2 separate regions of the Homo sapiens genome follow, and region 2 is linked to region 1. The links are contacts of gene promoters, found by promoter capture Hi-C in human tissues and cell types (Jung and others, 2019). All regions are on one chromosome and are shown on one strand. Each heading gives the region's core, a stretch centred on a gene start or on the middle of the fragment in contact. The rest is flanking DNA. Distances are from core to core; before and after follow the strand shown. Region 1 holds the start of WDR89 (WD repeat domain 89). Region 2 has its middle 1.7 kb from the start of LINC00644.

Region 1 (2,700 bases), core at 117-2,616:
TTTGTATTACATGTAAAATAGGAAAAAAATATTAAAATTTTTCGAAAGCGAAAAGTCTACTCAGCAAGTTTTTGGTATTTATTAATGGTTTTACTTTTGCTAGACACAAAAATGAAATACCGCTAAATTAGCTCACAGAAGAGTTCAGGATTCTATAGACTCAGGAAAAGCCTGTCCTAAAACTGTTTTAATAAAGGCTGAAAATAGACACTATAATACAGTCTTTAATAATATACAATGTGTATTCCTCCTGATGGTGGTCTTGCTTGACATTTTAAGCATAGCCCTATTTTCCTGTGAAGATAGCAGCCAGTTCTGCTTCATGTCATAACAACACTTGATTCATGTAAGCAGCTGCTACCTATGCCATCACAGTACACATAATTGCTAAATGTAGGGTTCAAATAATCGTAAATGGACACTAATATGAAAATCAGACTGTTTTGTTGTAACAGCAAAAGTTTTAGAAACAAATAATTTTAGTATCTACTTAGTACAGTAAGCATGAACATATAGTATACAGCTAGGCACAGCAGTAAATTGTTGGAAACACTAACATTTATTGTTTACGAACATACATGCAGTGTTTACACATTTCTTAAATGTTGTCTTTAATGCTGCTGATAAACGAAAGGATAAAAAGTCCAACAAACCACAATAAATGTCAATGGGTGTTATTAACAACATGAAAGAACTCAGTAGCAACAACCACATTTAAAGCTACAGGACTCGAAAGTTCCGGACTACAAATCCCAGAGTTCCCTAGAGCCCAGGCGGAGCTACCTTCAAACTGATCGCTTTTTCACCCAATGACAGCCAGAGAATCCCTAAACCACATTCAGCCCGGCCTGAAGGGCTGGTTTCTTCGCGTGAAAACAATAAGGTATTACGTAGACTTTCTGAACACGAGTGGTAGTTTCAGGGCCTGAGTCTAACTACTAAATTATTTCTCCCCGCATTAGTCTCCTAGTCATCTTAATAACTCTCTACCCAACTCTGGCTCGGTGGAAACTCGGAACGTCTAAATGCTGAAACTCACGTAAATCAGTACCAGCGGATGCATCCAGTCAGCCACGAGGAAGGCGGAATCCGCCTTATTCTTGCCCTTTATTGGCCACGCATCCCACCAATGGGGCCATTAAACTTCCGCTAACGCAGCGTACGGCGTGGTGGTGTGAGCGTTGTACGTACGCTGGGTCTACGAAGGGGCAGGCGTTCTGCTTTCGTCCAATCGGAAGCTAGCAAGAATTCCCCGGGCCGCTATGCCCCACTTCTTTCGCGTCGCGTTACGGGCCGCCTCTCTGCAGCCGACCAATCCTCTTGATTTTCTTGTGCGCATTACCCAATCAGAGAGGTCGAGGCGGGGTTCCACTTGACCGCTCTAAGCCGCCGCGCAGCCTGCGTTTTCTCCGGTACAGGTTGAGGCTACTAAGGTACATTTTGCTGGGCCAGGCTGGGCGGGTCCCCGGGATGGGCAGCCCTCTCGACGAGCGGCGACGCCGTGGTTGAGTCTAGAAAGCTAGAGTTGCTGGACAGCTATCGCGGGAGCGCGGAGGGAAGTGGGAGGTCTGGACGGAGTGTGCACGTGTTGGCAGTCTCGCTCCGCCGTCGGAGCCACCAGGTCAAACCTGTGCTGGCCCTGGCCAAAGAAACTTCTGCGGGTCAGGCTGCTGTTGCCGGTGCAGTTCCCAGTACTTCCTCTGGGGCGTTTTTCAATAAAAGCCAAACGCCCTTGCTCATTTTCAGGGAAAGACCTGTTTCCTCCTGCTCTTTCCTCTCCACGGATACTCTCCCCACCACTAAAAGGGTTTAGTATAATCCTTTTGTAGGCCAGAAAGCAGATTTTCACTTGGGAAGAGACGACCCGTAGTATGGGATGTGGTATGATACCAGCAACTGGTCTATTATATCATTTAAACCACATGGCTATCTAAAGAGGTAGGTACTGTGAGTGTTCTCATTTTCACGCGAAGCAGTGTTAGACATTACTCATTCTTGTGTTTTCTTTAGCTTGTCTCTGACAAATTGTGGCATTCAGCTTCCATGGATGTAAAATTAAAAGATGGTATAATTTGTAAAATGTTGCTCCTGTTTTCTTTTTTGTTTTTCTTTTTCTTTTTCTTTTTTTTTTTTTTTTTTGAGATGGAGTCTCAGGCTGTCGCGCAGGCTGGAGTGCAGTGGGGCGATCTCGGCTTACTGCAACCTCCGCCCCCCGGGTTCAAGCGATTCTCCAGCCTCAGCCTCCCGAGTAGCCGGGATTATAGGCGCCTGGCACCACGCCCGGCTAATTTTTGTATTTTTAGTAGAGACGGGATTTCACCATACTGGTCAGGCCGGTCTCGAACTCCTGACTTCAGGTGATCCACTCGCCTCTGCCTCCCAAAGTGCTGGGATTACAGGCGTGAGCCACCGTGCCCGGCCGTTTTCTTTATTAATTTGAAATTATTTAAAGTCAATAAAAGCCTGGGCGCGGTGGCTCACGCCAGTAATCCCAGCACTTTGGGAGGCCGAGGCGGGCGGATCACGAGGTCAGGAGTTCGAGACCAGCCTGGTCAACATGGTGAAACCCCCGTCTCTACTACGAATGCAAAAATGTGGCGGGCGCCTGTAGTCCCAGCTACTCGGGAGGCTGAGGCAGGAGAATCGCTTGAACCCGGGAGGCAGAGGTTGCAGTGAGCCAAGATCGTGCTACTGTACTCC
Region 2 (2,700 bases), core at 48-2,547, 1.5 Mb after region 1:
ATGAGGAACCTAGAATAACTGGAAAACTAAAGGTTTCTCATTATTTCTAAGTCAGTAACAGAAATTTTCTTAATCAGATTAATGGATTGACATTTTAATCTTGCATTGTTATTTATTTTACTCAGCTAAAATTTTTTGAGTTTGATCCTTAACTTGGGCATAGTATTAAATGCTGTACATGAGATAATTGGTGCTTCTCTTAGTAAACCTAAGACTTAGGTGAAATTGTTTCCCCTGTTTTAGAGACGAGAAAACCAAAGTTTAATGCTTTTTCCATTTAGAAAAAAAAATGCAGCTCGCTACCAGCACTCATTTAATTTTACATAAACACATTCTTTGAGGCTAAAGCCAATCCGACTGATTTTCAATGTGAAAATAAAATATAAAAACTGTTCTTGGGGTTACTTCTAAACAGAACTAACATCAGAATCATCCGTTTCAGAAAAATCAAATTCATCAAATGAATCATTGGCCAACAACTGCTCGTTGTAGGAATGCTACGTTTTCTAGGATTTGACATTTTCAGCGATGGAGAATTATTACATTTTTGTAAACGAAAATACCACTACTAAAAACAGAATGCTATCAATAGAATGGTGTCTCTTGTTTCCAAAGTTGATATAGTAGAGCGATGTGAAAATAATAATAAAAGCGAGATATTTTGTGGCAAAGTTATCTTGGAGTAAACGCTGCAGCCACCGGCAAGTCGTCTCAAGGAAAACAGGAAAAGGGTTAAAGAAGCTTAGACAGGAACTTTCCCAAAGTCCTACAGGTATAGGTAGTGGTATTAAGGCTTGAAGCTGGGTCCATCTTACTCAAAAACCATTTTCCTAAGCACAACAATACACTGTCTCACAGTGAAGGCTCAGCAGTCAGGCTACAGGAGTTCTAATTTTGGCTCTACCACCGACCAGCTGGACAGCGCTGGACTAGTTTCTTAAATTCTTTGTACCTCAGTTTTCTTCACTATAAATTTGAAAATAATAAAATGTAACTTTTATGGTTGGTGAGAAGTCAATTAAACACTTACAAAACCTCACATATAGTAAATGCTGAACAAATGGTAGCTATTTTAATTTTTGTTCATTCAGCATAGCACTGGCTGAATGAATTAAAGACAAATTATCAGGAAAGATCAAGATAATATGTGGCCTCCATATCCAAGGGCCATATAGTCTAGGGGAGAGGAGAGGTATGTAATGAAATAATTCAACACAAGGCAGACAATGAAAAAGAGAGAGAGAGAGATACAAAATGCTATAAGGGCCCAAATGAAAAAAAGAGTATATCCAGTTGGAAGAGTACAAGACATTTAATGGAAAAAAAAATGACATTAGAATTGGACCAAAAATGAATGGAGCGTTTAAATTGCTGGTCATACAGTTCTAGACACTGGGATCGAAAAAGAAAAATCCCACTGTCTGATGGTGTTTTATGTCCACAAATCAGATTATAAAATCGTGAAGAGCAAAGACTGCTTCTGTTGTTCCCTCCTGAGCACTGCAAAACAGTTGTGGTTGTTCTGAGTGTCAATATTCACTCACGTCACCAACCCCTAGGGACCAGTTTGTTCACAATTGTGGCAGCAGCCTGCACCCCACACCATCATCTCTCACTCCATTACAAGTCTTTGGCACCTTGTAAGTCATCCATATCTATGGGCACTGGAAACTAGAGAGAATTTTGTAAGGAGAAGGCCCACATGGAAGGTCAAGGAGGTCCATATATACCATATGGAATTTTAAGGAGCATGCCCAAAGAAATTATTTGTCAGAGAATCATAATGATATAGTATTTTTGAGTAATTATCAGTAGTTCTAGAAGATTTAGCAACTGGCTTTCTAACTGCTTCTCCCACTCAATTCCCTCCTAATCCCAGACTTATATTTTCAGCTGCTTTATTGACGTTCCACTTGAATGTTTCACTCCAAGCTAAAATATGAAACACTAAGTTGATGATCCCTCTCCCTACCTCATGTTCTTCTTTTTCTTTGTCTGTAAGTGGCCGACCGTTGTTCCATTTGTCCGAAATCTAAACGACCGCCATCCAAATAGAAATACAATGTGAGCCACATACATAATTTTAAATTTTCTAGTGTCCACACTAAACATTTTTAAAGAAACAGGTTAAGTTAATTTTAAATATATTTTATGTAATGCTGTATGAACTAAATATTAGCATTTCAACATGTAAGCAATGTGATATTTACATTCTTCAATATAAAAACCTTAGAAATCCAGAGTATATTTTACAATTACAGTACATCTCAATTTAGACCATCCACAGTTCAAGCGGCCAGTTGCTACATTACTGGGTCTTTGTTACATAGAAAATGCAGGTCTGTCTGCATCTGAAAAGTGACTCTTCACTCTTGTTCCCTCACCCTCCATCTCCAAGCGTTTAGTGTGTCTCCGTAATGTCTCTCATAACTATTTTGCCATTTCTATTCAACACATGTAAGACCAACCTCTCCAAAGTGCTATCAAAAACACCATCAATGGCTCCCAGTCGCCTACCAAAGAGGATTCAGATGCCTCACACTGGTGTTCAAAGCCTTCCACAAAAAGTGCCCTGATTATTTTAGGGCATCACTTTTCTTTGCCCCTCTCTAACACTAGTCTCCTTCAATTAATCCAGACTACAGATTGTTCCCCCATCGTATCCCTACTTTCCCAACCCTTTCACTTTGGTCATTGGCT

What was found. The method cuts DNA at HindIII sites, captures the fragments that hold promoters and counts their contacts. A contact is called where the count stands out against the background at its distance.
Region 2: a contact is called between a fragment that was not itself captured here and the fragment with the promoter of WDR89 in region 1, in 1 of the 25 tissues and cell types used here (dorsolateral prefrontal cortex).

The regions. Positions count from the first base shown.
Region 1 is chr14:63,640,537-63,643,236 of GRCh38, reverse strand. WDR89 (WD repeat domain 89) reads left to right here and starts at 1,366. Exons shown (of 3, transcript NM_080666.4): 1 at 1,366-1,433. LOC105370532 (a long non-coding RNA gene) reads right to left here and starts at 1,176. Exons shown (of 3, transcript XR_001750790.3): 1 at 1,040-1,176. RefSeq lists enhancers at 785-1,054, 1,465-1,564, 1,119-1,778. The HindIII fragment of the contact is 13,842 bases long and covers 1-2,700 here.
Region 2 is chr14:62,140,278-62,142,977 of GRCh38, reverse strand. No RefSeq gene overlaps it. Among named protein-coding and RNA genes, the nearest start is that of LINC00644, 1.7 kb to the right of the region's middle. The HindIII fragment of the contact is 3,120 bases long and covers 1-2,700 here.